Linked DNA regions of Homo sapiens: regions 1 and 2 are each linked to region 3. The links are contacts of gene promoters, found by promoter capture Hi-C in human tissues and cell types (Jung and others, 2019). All regions are on one chromosome and are shown on one strand. Each heading gives the region's core, a stretch centred on a gene start or on the middle of the fragment in contact. The rest is flanking DNA. Distances are from core to core; before and after follow the strand shown.

Region 1 (4,444 bases), core at 1,439-3,938, 670 kb after region 3:
CATTATAGAGAGGAAAACAGTACTTTTTGTTCAATTGTGCAAACTCTCCAAGTATCTAATGGAGAAGTAGAGAAGAACCCTAATGAAACTGAGTGTGAATGAGGCTCAGCTAGGCTTCTACTTGGGTTCACTTTCTCATCTGTCTGCCTGTCCTGGGATTGACCCTCGCTCCTCTGAAGACCAGCCTGAAAGCCTTAAAACTGGTCAGATGATGGATGAGTCTGATGAGGACTTTAAAGAACTCTGCGCTAGCTTTTTCCAAAGGGTGAAAAAACATGGAATCAAGGAAGTGTCAGGAGAAAGGAAGACACAAAAGGCTGCCTCAAACGGCACTCAGATAAGAAGCAAATTGAAAAGGACCAAACAAACTGCTACCAAGACCAAAACCCTTCAAGGCCCTGCAGAGAAGAAACCTCCGTCTGGCAGCCAGGCCCCTAGGACTAAAAAGCAAAGGGTAACCAAATGGCAAGCAAGTGAACCGGCCCACTCTGTGAATGGGGAGGGGGGTGTGCTTGCCTCTGCTCCAGATCCACCTGTGCTCCGGGAAACAGCACAAAACACCCAGACGGGTAACCAGCAAGAACCATCGCCAAACCTTTCCAGAGAGAAAACCAGAGGTAATTTGTACTCTTTTAAACCAGGGGCTGGAAAACTTCCTGGAAAGGGCCAGATCGTAAATATTTTGGCTTTGTAGGCCACACAGACTCTGTCACAACTACTCAACTCTGCTGTCATAGTGAGAAAGCAGGCGTGGACAATATGTAAATGAACAGGCATGGCCATATGCCAGTAAAACTTTATTTACAAAAACAGGCAGCCAGCCACATGACCGTAGTTTGCTAACTTTTGGTTTGTTTTTATTTTTTAATTTTTAAGCTTAAAAAAAAATTTAGAGCTGGAGGTCTCACTATGTTGCCCAGGCTGGTCTTGAACTCCTGGACTCAAGCAATCCTCGTGCCTCAGCCTCTCAGAGTGCTGGGATTACAGGCGTAAGCCACTGCGCCCGGCTGACTCCTGGTTTAAACAACAGTCAAGAAAAACATAACCCGTGTGAATTTTTCACATGATTGTGTTTGGAGTCCTCTGCTCTTTCAGAATTTCCTATGAAATTCTGTTATATGATTGACATGAGTTACACAAACAACACAATAATGCTGCTTCTCTTGTTTTCTTGAATTTATTCCAAAGTGGGTAAGTTGGACTGGGCCAGCCAATTTGGATAGGCTGCTGAGAGGGCCGCATGAGGACTCTGTGTGGGCTCAAGTCCCAGGAGAATCTTCAGGTTCTTTCTTTCTCTCTCTGAAGACCTTTTAATCTTTTCCTTTGTTATTGTTATTGATTTATTTACTTACTTAGTTTTTAGAGACAGGATCTTGGTCTCTCACCCAGGCTGGAGTGCAGTGGTGCTATCATAGCTTACTGCAGCCTTGACCTCCCAGGTTCAAGCAGTCCTCCCTGCCTCAGCCTCCCGAGTAGCTGGGACCACAGGCACCCACCACCGTGCCTGGATAATTTTTTAACTGTTTAAAGCAGTTTTCTTGCCCTGCTGCCCTTGGTATACTGAGCTATATGCTTACTACACATTCTTCATGCAAAACTGAAAACTACCCTTGCATATATAATACACCATGGGCTCTCTGAGCTCCTGAGTTCTGTTTCTAAATTTCCTTTGCCCTCACTTCCTGATCTTAATAACCTCTCAGTAGAGTGGTGGTAGAGTCTCAGGTCGCATAGACTACTGGAAGGCATCAGCAGTGTTGCCTCACCAACTTTACTGGTCTCTCGTGCTCTTTGCCAGTCGGATGAAATCTATGCATGGTTCCCCCAAAACACGTATCCATGCGCGTATCTGCAAAACTGGCACACAACTTCATGGGGTTCATGGATCCCCACTGAAGATCATCCGTGGATCCCAAGTTAAAGAAGAACTGATCTAGGACATAAACCTTTGTCATTAATATTTCTTTAATAATAGCTTTATTGGGGTATAATTGATATTCCATAAAATTCACCATTTAAAAGGGTATGGTTCAGTGGTTTTTAGTATATTCACAGACTTGTCCAACCACCACCACTACCTAACGTTAGAACAGTTTTATCATCCTAAAAATAAACCCCATGCTCATTAGCAGTCACATCCCATTCCCCTCCTGTTATTGATATTTATGTCTATATTGCCATAAACAAAGAGGTTACCAACAAGCAACCAGTCCTCTTCACATTTGTGAGTCAAACCTAAACTAGTTGATAAAGGACTCTTGAAACTTGCGTCTAACCTGTATCTGGTAGAAAAGTCTTTTATTTCTCCAGCTACAACAGATGGTTGTGAATATTTTCCTCCTTGCCAGAGAATGTGCCCAACAGCGACTCCCAGCCTCCTCCTTCCTGTTTGACAACAGCAGTGCCAAGTCCCTCCAAACCCCGCACAGCACAATTGGTCCTACAGCGAATGCAGCAGTTCAAGAGAGCAGACCCCGAGCGTTTGAGACACGCTTCAGAAGAGTGCTCCCTCGAGGCTGCGCGGGAAGAAAATGTCCCAAAGGATCCTCAAGAGGAGATGATGGCGGGGAATGGTATGATGAGTGTGTTTCTGTCTTCCACACAGAGATAAGTTAATACAACTCTGAGGAAGGGAGGCGGGAAGGAATCAGCATTTGTTGAGTTTCTTCTGTGGATAGGCTCTCTGCTTGATGTTTTACCTTTGCCACTTCACTGGATCCAGCCAGAGAATGAAGAGTCTCTGGGATCATTTCCCACCTAGCTTCCTTGATAAGGTACCGTTTTGTTTTTTTTTCTGAGACAGAGCCTTGCTCTGTCACCCAGGCTGGAGTGCAGTGACATGATCTCAGCTCACTGCAACCTCCGCCTCCCAGGTTCAAGCAATTATCTTGCCCCAGCCAGTGGGATTACAGACGTGTGCCACCACACCTGGCCAATTTTTGTATTTTTAGTAGAGACAGGGTTTCGCCAAGTTGGCCAGGCTGGTCTCGAACTCCTGACCTCAAGTGATCTGCCTACCTCAGCTCCCCAAAGTGCTGGGATTACAGGCGTGAACCATTGCACCTGGCCCTCTTCCTTTTTTTTTTTTTTTTTTTTTTTTGAGATGGAGTCTCGCTCCGTCACCCAGGCTGGAGTGCAGTGGCACGATATTAGCTCACTGCAAGCTCCACCTCCCAGGTTCACGCCATTCTCCTGCCTCAGCCTCCCGAGTAGCTGGGACTACAGGCTCCCACCACCACGCCTGGCTAATTTTTTGTATTTTTAGTAGAGACAAGGTTTCACCTTGTTAGCCAGGATGGTCTCGATCTCCTGACCTCGTGATCCACCCGCCTTGGCCTCCCAAAGTGCTGGGATTACAGGCGTGAGCCACTGTGCCTGGCCTCCTTTTTTTAAAAATTATGACTTTTTATTATGAAAGCTTTCCCTTTCAGTTTTTTCCTTTTAAAAAGATAACCCTCAGTATTCACAAAGAACTCTTCCTTTCAGAAAAGGTTTTTTTGTTGTTGTTGTTTTAATTACAATGAAGCCAGGCATGATGGCTCATGCCTATAATCCCAAAACTTTGGGAGGCCAAGGCAGGAGGACTACTTGAGGTCACAAGTTCGAGACCAGCCTGGACAACATAGTGAGACCCCCATCTCTACAAAAAAATTTTAGGGGCCAGGCGTGGTGGCTCACGCCTGTAATGCCAGCACTTTGGGAGGCCGAGGTGCGCAGATCACAAGGTCAGGAGATTGAGACCATCCTGGCTAACACAGTGAAACCCCATCTCTATGAAAAATACAAAAAATTAGCAAGGTATGGTGGTGGGTGCCTGTAGTCCCAGCTACTCGGGAGGCTGAGGCAGGAGAATGGCGTGAACCTGGGAGACAGAGCTTGCAGTGAGCCGAGATTGCACCACTGCACTCCAGCCTGGGCAACAGAGCAAGACTCTGACTCAAAAAAAAATTTTTTTTTAATTAGCTGGGCATGATGGTGCACAACTGTAGTCCCAGCTACTCGGGAGGCTGAGGTGGGAGGATTGCTTGAGCCCAGGACGTTGAGCTGCAGTGAGCTGTGATTGCATCATTGCACTCCAGGGCAACAGAGTGAGACCCTGTCTCAAAAAAAAAAAAAAAAAAATTACAATGAATCCCCTAATCCCCTATACCTCAATCTAGATTTAACAAATGTTAACATTTGGCCATTTGTTTATGTCTTTATAAATATACATTTTTTTTTTTTTTTGAGATGGAGTCTTGGTCTGTCTCCCAGGTTGGGGTGCAGTGGCGCAATCTCGGCTCACTGCAAACTCCACCTCCTGGGTTCAAGCCATTCTCCTGCCTCAGCTTCCAGGAAGCTGGGACTACAGGCATGCACCACCACGTCCAGCTAATTTTTGTATTTTTAGTAGAGTTGGGGTTTCACCATGCCGGCCAGGCTGTTCTGGAACTCCTGACCTTGT
Region 2 (4,574 bases), core at 1,933-4,432, 530 kb after region 3:
ATTACAGCCATTAGCCACCGCGCCCGGCTGACTTTTTTTTTTAAGACCACATTGCATTGTTATCAAAAGTTTATGGTTATTTAATCTTTATAGAGTCAATTCTCAAGTCTTGGGATGGCCTTCTGCAGCTTGACGCGCCAGGCTGGCCTTTTGCCGAGTTAACCAGCAAACCCACACAAGAACGGCAACTGCAGCAGTGTTCTAACATTGACTTGCCAGCTGCTCCCTACAGCTGTCACCTTTCTCTGGCAGGACAGGTGACTAGCATGTTGCTCAGGAGATCCCCAATAGAACCAGGGTCATTTGGGGAGCTCAGAGTAGAAGAGAGATGGAAATGCTAGGATGGACCATGCACTGGGGGAAGGGGAGGAGGAAGCCACCCTGTAGACTTGAGACTGAGTCTTAATTCAAGTTCAAACTCTGTTGTTAACCAACATCCAAAGTTATGCAATAGCTTACACTGCCTCTGTTAAAAACTTGTGAAATATCACTCATTGATAAACTATTGTAATACTTTTCCTTAGCTCGGTTTCTCAACTGAGGCACTGTTGACATTTCAGGCCAGGTAACCCTCTGTTTTAGGGGCTGTCCTGCGCATTACAGGATTTTAGCAGCATGCCTGGCCTCTGCCCACTCAGTGCCAGTAACACCTTCCTCAGCAATTCATTACGTCTGTCAGAAATGTCTCCAGACATTGCCAGATGTCCCCTGGAGGGGCACAGTTGCCTCCATTTGAGAGGCCCTGCTTCAGAGGATTCACTCTGAGTGAGTTCGCTAATGCATTTGAGCAAATTGGAAGTTCTTCCCTGGGCCAGAGGCTCAGTAGCCAAAACAGAATTACCCAGAGAACTAGGCCTCCGTAGAACAGTCATTGCCTGAAAGGGGCAGGAGGTGACTGGGCGGAATGGCACAAGTGGCCCCAGAGCAGGTCCAGCCCCCTCCCACCGCAGCATCCAGAAAGACCCGTGGGCATTCGGTAGATGAGCCCAAGATCTAGAAATGGAACATTACTGGAGAAAAGGGCCTAGGAGACTAGAGGTAGCTCTACTCTCAGTGTGAGCGTGTGTCAGCACAGGCGTTGTGGTGTCTGATCACAGAGTAAAGGTATGCTTCCTTAATCTTGCATTGAAAACCATCTCCTTCGCATACACCATATGCAAAACCAAATTCAGGTAGATTAAAAAGCGAGAAAAGTAAACAAAACTGCAGATGCATTCAGGATAAAAGTAAGATAATAATTTTATTGTGTTGAGTTATGAAAAGCCTTCCTTAAAAAGATACAGCCCAGAGATGAGAAAGGAAAAGGCACAAAAGGCCCCTGTCATGCGCCATGGATGAAGATACAAGTTGAATGCCAGAAAGCGAGGGGCACAATTTAAAGTGTTCATTTTTAGATTTAGCAAGTCTACTTTCACACATGTATCCTATAAAAATATTTGCACATATGCATAACGGCACATACAAGGACATAACTGCAGCAATGGCAAGGAGTGATGAAAAAGTAGGAACAGTGGCCAAATCGAGTGATAACAGAAAAGGAGGCAGCACTGTGAGGAAGGTTGCGCAGAGTGCACCGCAGTGAGCACGGCCTGCGCCTAGACCCCTGTGCTGTCTGAGACCACCTCTGGAGTATGCAGCCATGTGTGGATCACAGGTGTCAAATAGCGAAGTTACTCTGGAAGAGTTTTTTTTGTTTGTTTTTTTGGGGGGTTTTTTTGTTTTTTTTTTGTTTTGTTTTGTTTGTGCAGACAGAGTCTCGCTCTGTCGCCCACACTGGAGTGCAGTCACGTGATGTCGGCTCACTGCAAGCTCTTGCCTCCCGGGTTCACGCCATTCGCCTGCCTCAGCCTCCCGAGTAGCTGGGACTACAGGCGCCCGCCACCATGCCTGTAGTCCTAATTTTTTCTGTTTTTTAGTAGAGATGGGGTTTCACCGTGTTAGCCAGGATGGTCCCGATCGCCTGACCTCGTGATCCGCCTGCCTCGGCCTCCCAAAATGCTGGAATTACAGGCATGAGCCATCGCTCCCGACTTAATTTTGCATTCTTAGTGGAGACGGGGGTTTCACCATGTTGGCCAGGCTGGTCTCGAACTCCTGACCTCAGGTGATCCACTCGCCTCAGCCTCCCAAAGAGCTGGGATTACAGGTGTGAGTCACTGCGCTCAGCTTAATTTTGTATTTTTAGTAGAGATGGGGTTTCTCCGTTTTGGTCAGGCTGGTCTTGAACTCCTGACCTCAGGTGATCCACCTGCCTCGGCCTCCCAAAGTGCTGGGATTACAGGCATGAGCCATTGTGCCCGGCCACATTTTTCTTTTTAAATCATTTTTATTCAGGTACAACTTATCCAAAAATCAGCACCACTGGTTTGTTTATTGCAGAAAAATGAAATTTAGAAGTTTGGTCTAAATTTTCTAGCTCGCTAAGGAATCTTCGAAAATTCCCAATTTTCCTATTTCTCACTAATGTAGGAAATATTTAAAAGCCAGCAAAGAAGAAAACATCTTTTAAAATCTCATTGTCTATACGTAATCACTAAGAACCTTTTGCAACTTTCCCTTATAGTTTTTTAACCTGTATATGAGGCGTTCTCTGTCCTGAAGTAATGTCCTGCCTCTGGCTAGCTCCTGTGACGGTAGCCCTCCCGGGGCTGGCCCTGGGTGAGGAGGGGTGGCGGCGGGGAGGTGAGCCCAGGAAAGGCTGCCCTCGCCAAGGCTCGGAAACTTCATTCGTGCACCGCACGAGGCGATGGCTCAGGGCAGGCTTGGACACCAATACTTTGCCAGCTCCTGAGGCACCGGACAGGCTCTGGCCAGAGCTTAATTGGTTAGCCCTAGAACGTTCCACGTTCACGTCAGACTCCATAGTAGGGACTTTCTCCTCAGAGCTGGGCAGGAGGAGCCCACTGAGGGTGTGCCATCTCTGCCCTCCAGGGAAAGCGGGAAGCAACAGGGAAACATCCATCTGCTCCGCCCTAGAGCCCCTGTCAATTTTGGACCCACCGCTATAGGTCTTCTGCCCCATACTGTTAGAAAAAGATGCAGGTTACCTGGGCACGTAAACGGTTTTCAGGAGTGGAGTGCCTGAGATCCCAGAGTCCACCTTTCCTTTATATAACACTCGTGTCACAGGACAGATTAGATTTCTTCCGTGTTTGGAGAACATTAGTCCTTTAAAATATCAGCCTGTGCTGCAAAGTGGGGTGGATTCTCTAGTCTCAGTCACTGTCTCAGCAGTGCTGTTGAAGCCCTCTCACCTGCTCCTTCTGGACTTCCTAGGGCTGCAGACCACAAGACTGGGAAACCACTTGGAAGACCGAGTGAACAAATTTTTGCGGCGCCAGAATCACCCTGAAGCCGGGGAGGTTTTTGTCCGAGTGGTGGCCAGCTCAGACAAGACGGTGGAGGTCAAGCCCGGGATGAAGTCACGGTCAGTGTGCCTGCTCTCTACAGTGCTCTGCGAGCAGTCCCCACGCCCGCTTGCCAGAGCCTGCTCTCTGCAAAGCTCTTGAGTTTGAGGTCATCCTTCCAAGACTTTGCAGCAGCGAATGCGTGCAGTAGCCCCCTCAGCTGCGGTTGTCCTGTCTGGGGTTTTAGTTACCCTATACAGTGCAGTAAGCTATTTTGAGAGAGAGACCACATACCATATTATAGTATACTGTTTATAATTTTCTTATTTTATTATTACTTATTCTTGTTAATCTCTTGCTGTGCCTAATTTATAAATTAAAATTTTGTGACCAGTACAGGTGTATAAGAAAAAACGCATAGAGGTTGATACTGTCCATGGTTTCCAGCATCCACTGCTGGTCTTGGAACATACACCCCGTGGATAAGGGGGACTGCTGTATAGCCAGTCCTCCTCAGAATCCCGTATTTCATTCACAGAGGTGCAGTTCCCTAGTGAGGGAAACTGGTCAGAAAGCAAGTGCTCCCTGCTCCGGGGCTGACTGGCCCATAGGGAGGACTCCAGGCCACGGTCTGAGGAGGTGGCCATGCCTCCGCTCATCTGCAGTGGCCAGAGTTAGAGGAGCAGGCCTGGTGTGCAGAAGCACCTTGTCAGCAACAGCCTTTGTAAATGTCCGGCTCTGGCTTTTGTTTCAGGTTTGTGGATTCTGGGGAAATGTCTGAATCTTTCCCATATCGAACCAAAGCTCTGTTTGCTTTTGAGGAAATTGACGGCGTGGATGTCTGCTTTTTTGGAATGCACGTCCAAGAATACGGCTCTGATTGCCCCCCTCCAAACACGAGGTAGTTTTCCAGCTCCTTCCAGGGCGTGTCATTCAGTGAGCCGTGTTAGGATAGACCAGGGCTCTTAAGTGTCCCAGAGGAGCCTGTGAGCCTTCATAGGGGATTAAAGTAAATGAAACCACAATTAACTAACCAAAGTAGTTAGTTTTGTTTTCCATTAAACTAGCGGGAAATGAACTGTTGAGATGACTGCAGTGAGCGTGTTTTGTGTGGCGAGTCTGTGTGGGACCCGCTCTTACCTAACGCAGGTAAACCTGGGGAGTTGGGATGGGACAGCCTGGCACCTGAACAGAGGAAGTAGCTCTGCCACGAGGGCTTCATGTGCA
Region 3 (4,354 bases), core at 659-3,158:
AAACAAAAAAAAGAATAGCTTGCTCACTAAGGGCAGTTAAAAATAGGCTTCCCACCAGGGCCATCCATGGCTCATGCTTGTAATCCCAGCAATTTGGGAGGTAGAGGTAGGATTCCTTGAGTCCCAGGAGTTCAAGACCAGGCTGGGCAACACAGTGAGACTCCTATCTCTATTTGTTGAAAAACAGTAAAAAGGTTTTTTTTTTTTTTTTTTTTTGAGACGGAGTTTCACTCTTGTTGCCCAGGCTGGAGTGCAATGACATGATCTTGGCTCACTGCAACCTCCACCTCCCGGGTTCAAGCGATTCTCCTGCTTCAGCCTCCCGAGTAGCTGAGATTACAGGCATGTGCCACCAGGCCCCCGGCTAATTTTGCATTTTTAGTAGAGACGGGGTTTCTCCATGTTGGTCAGGCTGGTCTCGAACTCCCGACCTCAGGTGATCCACCCGCCTCAGCCTCCCAAAGTGCTGAGATTACAGGCGTGAGCCAACGCGCCCAGCCGAAAGTTTTTTTTTTTTTTTTTTTTTTTTAAGTAGAAACATAGTAAGCCTTCCAGAGACTTTTTTTTGGTCAAGTGGTCTGGGATCTCTCCTTAGAGAAACTGCCTAACAGGTTGCTTCAAGGATTGGAGAGCGTGTAAGCAAAACTGCTCGGCATCCACCGGGTGCTGGCAACATCTAATAACAATATTTCCCAATAATAACAGTAACTATTGTTACTAGTAGGAATAAGTCAAATTAGGAGGCGCGATTTAGGCGGAACCTGGAAGGCGGTGGGCAGGATCCAGGACATTCCAAGGCAGGCGTGGGCTTCCTGAGCCAGGAGCCAACCCTCCAGGAGCCAGGGGAGGGCCTGGGGCCGGAAGGTGCGGCGTGCGAGCGGAGGACGGAAGCTCGCCGCCAGGGTCCCCGTCCCTGCCCCAAGTCGTCACCCCCTCTTGGGGAGCGCATCCTGGCGGAGGGGCAAGTCCCACACGGGCTTTGTTATGAATGGGAAGCTGCAGCCTTCAGCCCGCGGAGGGAACAGTGCGGGTCTGGGGGAATAGCAGGGGACCCGGCAGCAACCAGCAGACCTCCCCGCAGCGCTGGCAGCCTGCGCCCGGGGGCCGCTGCCGTTCAGGCCCGCCTCCACCCTCCCCTCCCTGCCGGGGCCCCCGGCTTCCTAGGGCGGCCCCAGCATCCGAGGCGCCCTTTGCCGTCCCGTCGCCGGGTCCAAGATTCCCAGGATCCGGAGTCCCGGCCGTGCGGCCAGCTAAGCAAGGCGGGAGGGAGGAAGCTGGCCGGCCTCCGAAGTCAGCCCCGAGTTACATGTGGGAAGCGGTGGCTGTGACGCAAGTTTCCAGGGGGCCCTGGGCTCGGCTCGAAGGGAGCACACCGGAGAGGCTCCGCTCCGTGCAGCTGCAATGGTGAAAAAGCAGAAGCCCCAAGCGCGAACCCCAGGCCGCCTTCCTTGCTGCCGCTGCACGCCCGACCCAGCCGCGCCCCCTCCTCCCTGCGGGCCGGCCGAGCGCGCGGACCCTGCTCTGGGCCAGTCGCTGCTGGACTCCGGGCTGCACGGGCTGGGCTCCCTGCGCGGTGGCTGGCCTTTTTTTTTTTTTTTTTGCAACGCTTGCCAACCTGTCAGCTGATGGACCTCATCACCCATAGTGGCGCATGTAGCTCGGCCGCAGCTCGCTCCATTCACGCCGCGCCCCGCAAGCCCGCCCGCGGCCCCCGGCCCCCTGCGCCCCGCGAGAGGCCTGCAGACCCCGGTTGCAGCCGGTCCCCGGGGGCCCGCGCCCCTCTCGCCCCGGCCTCGCGCCGCCCGGGGGGCGCTGCAAATAGTCCTTTGTTTACATGCAATTCCTTACTCCGCGGAAGGAGGCCGGGGGAGTGCTGAGTTTTCACCAGCTGTTTCCCGCCTTGAAACAGACATCTGATCAGCTGCAAACACACACACACACACACACACACACACACACACACACACACACACACATACACACGCCCGGGGAGGCAGGCCGGAGAGACCTCCCTCCCGCCCCTCCCGCCCGCCTCCCTCCCCTCGCCGCCGCCGCCGCCGCCAGCATCTGGGACCGGCCGATTCTGCACCTCCGTCCGGCGCTGCCCTTTGATTCGGATTTCCATCTTGCATTCTCCGGCTGATCGCGGGACCTGGCTCGTGCAGAGGAGGGGGGCCGATCGCTATGGAGTATTTCATGGTGCCCACTCAGAAGGTGCCCTCTTTGCAACATTTCAGGAAAACAGAGAAAGAAGTGATAGGAGGGCTCTGTAGGTGTGTACTCCTCCTCCCCCCACCCCCTTCCTACCACTGCAGCCCCCGGCCAGCCCGCCCGGGCGGGCGCGCGTGTGCGCACGCATGGCCCGCGCCGCCGACCCCGCTAGCCTTTCTTAGCTGCCGGGACGGCTGCAGCCCCACACGCCGGGTCCGCGCCGCCCCGGGACCCTCCTTCCTTGGAGCATGGGGGCCCCAAGCGGCCCCGGCCACTTTTGTCCGCTGCAGGCGGGCGAGTCGCGACGTTTGTAAATTGCAAACAGACCCACGTGGTTCTGCAGCAGTCCCGGCCATGCTTGGTGCTGGTGGCCTTCCCCCCCGCGCTTCCTCTTTCCCCCTCCTGCGGCGGCTTCCTTCCTCTCCTTCCTTCCTCGGGATCTGAGGTCGTCCCCATCCAAGGGGGTCTGGGGGCCCGGGGCGCGCGTGGGGGTGTAGCTAGGGCGGCTACAATGCAGCCATGCCGCGGCTCCCGGCGCGGGGTGGGGGCGGGGAGCCGGGCACTGTGCGTGTTTGCAGAGCGGGGCTGCAGCGGGGTCGGGGGCGTGCTCGCGTGTGGGTGTTGGGGGTGGGCGGACCCCGAGGGGCCCGCGCGGCCGGTAGGGGCGCCGCGGCCCGGGGCACGTTGGCTGCCGCTCGCTCGCCCGCCCGCGCCCGGGCGCTGTTTACTAGCGAGGCCTGGACGTGACTCTGCAGCCCTCTTGGAGTAGGCGGACCTCTGCGCGCGGCCTCGCGGGAGCTGTAGTTCTCCGTGTCCTGCTGGTGCAGCATTGTGGGATTTGTAGGCGCTCCTGGGCCACGCTTTCCCTGCACAAAGCTCGGCCCCCGCGGGCACGATGGGCAAGGCAGGCCAGGTGGGCAGGCCATTTGGGGAAGGGACACCTGAGGCCGCCCCTAGCCTCGCAGGGCAGCTTCCCGCCGCACGTGGGTTTCCTCTGCAAACTTTCCCATCCAACGCCCCTCCCCCCTGCCGTAAACCGAAAGCGTCGGGTCCCCCAGCCGGGTGGGTGGCCCGAGGTCCGCAGGCCTCCCCAGAAGCCACTTTGCAAGCTTTGGTCCTAGGTTGCTCTAAACCCAAAGGGTGATGGACTCAAGGACCACACACAGCCAAACCACCCCGCACACTTCTTAAAATGCACATGCCTGGAACTCTGATCGCTGGGGCCCGGACATCTGCATTTTGAACGACCCCCTGGGCGTGGTGTGGGGGAGGTGGGCGTTCTACGGCGTGCGCAAGTTTGGGACCTGTGGCCCCTTTCCTGCCGCGCTGCTCCAGGAGCGAAATGGCTCCCCAGGGCTGGAGCCACGTGCTCTGCCGCCCGAGGCAGTCTGGGCGGGGATTGAGGGAGGAGGAGCCCGCCGGTGTGGCACAGGCTGGTGGACGCTAGCGCCTGCAGAATCCGGCCTGGAGGGAAGGTTGCTGCACACGTGTAGACACTCCTGCCCAACCCTCTGCCCCGGGGGTCCCCACCTTAAGGCTACTCTGAAGTTCCCAGTCAATACCTAGACTTGGGCCAGTTGATGGGTTTGGCAGCTGGCAGGGATGCCCCGAGGGCTGGCCCTTGCACGAGGCCCACCTGGAGGGCCCAGTAATAATAAGTAAAAAAAATTCTTGAGCTCTTTTTATGTTCTGGGGACTCACTTTGCTAGAATTTTCTCACTGAGTTGTCATAATCTTTCTATGAGTCAAAAGTGTCTTTTGATTCCGCTTAAAGAGGCGGACACAGAGACTGGAGAAGGGACCACTACAGCAGGTGGTGGAACTGGAACTTGAACCCTTGTCCTGGGGTTGCTGCTGCTGCAGGGCTGGGCTGGGCAGCGCGGAGGTGCAGTTGAGCCGCTGTGCCTACTGGAGAAGACATTCTGGGCCTGATCCTGGGCAGGGTTGGGGGGCCCTCTGGCTGCCATGCCTGGGCCTTGGGTGAGTCCTCTCAGGGCCCCCTGAGATTCTGGCTTCAATTTATCCCTGCCCCAAGCGTTCCTTTGGAGCATACCAGCAGTCCCCCAGGGTAGCTGGATCTTGGTAGGCCAAGGACTTGAAGGTGTAGGGCCTTCGTCCAGGGTTGGACATGGCAACGTCCATT

The links. The method cuts DNA at HindIII sites, captures the fragments that hold promoters and counts their contacts. A contact is called where the count stands out against the background at its distance.
Region 1: a contact is called between a fragment that was not itself captured here and the fragment with the promoter of TFAP4 in region 3, in 1 of the 25 tissues and cell types used here (dorsolateral prefrontal cortex).
Region 2: a fragment that was not itself captured here is called in contact with the fragment with the promoter of TFAP4 in region 3 in 1 of the 25 tissues and cell types used here (dorsolateral prefrontal cortex).

Annotation. Positions count from the first base shown.
Region 1 is chr16:3,604,603-3,609,046 of GRCh38, reverse strand. SLX4 (SLX4 structure-specific endonuclease subunit) reads left to right here. Exons shown (of 15, transcript NM_032444.4): 2 at 1-617; 3 at 2,349-2,573. The coding sequence starts at 83. Among named protein-coding and RNA genes, the nearest start is that of SLX4, 4.8 kb to the left of the region's middle. The HindIII fragment of the contact is 4,547 bases long and covers 415-4,444 here.
Region 2 is chr16:3,739,252-3,743,825 of GRCh38, reverse strand. It overlaps CREBBP (CREB binding lysine acetyltransferase), which reads left to right. Exons shown (of 31, transcript NM_004380.3): 24 at 3,277-3,427; 25 at 4,102-4,248. Among named protein-coding and RNA genes, the nearest start is that of TRAP1, 24 kb to the right of the region's middle. The HindIII fragment of the contact is 9,134 bases long and covers 1-4,574 here.
Region 3 is chr16:4,270,577-4,274,930 of GRCh38, reverse strand. It overlaps TFAP4 (transcription factor AP-4), which reads left to right and starts at 1,908. Exons shown (of 7, transcript NM_003223.3): 1 at 1,908-2,273. The coding sequence starts at 2,185. RefSeq lists silencers at 964-1,613, 2,334-2,383, 2,744-2,903 and enhancers at 762-1,737, 2,034-2,083, 2,984-3,173, 2,715-3,691. The HindIII fragment of the contact is 15,415 bases long and covers 1-4,354 here.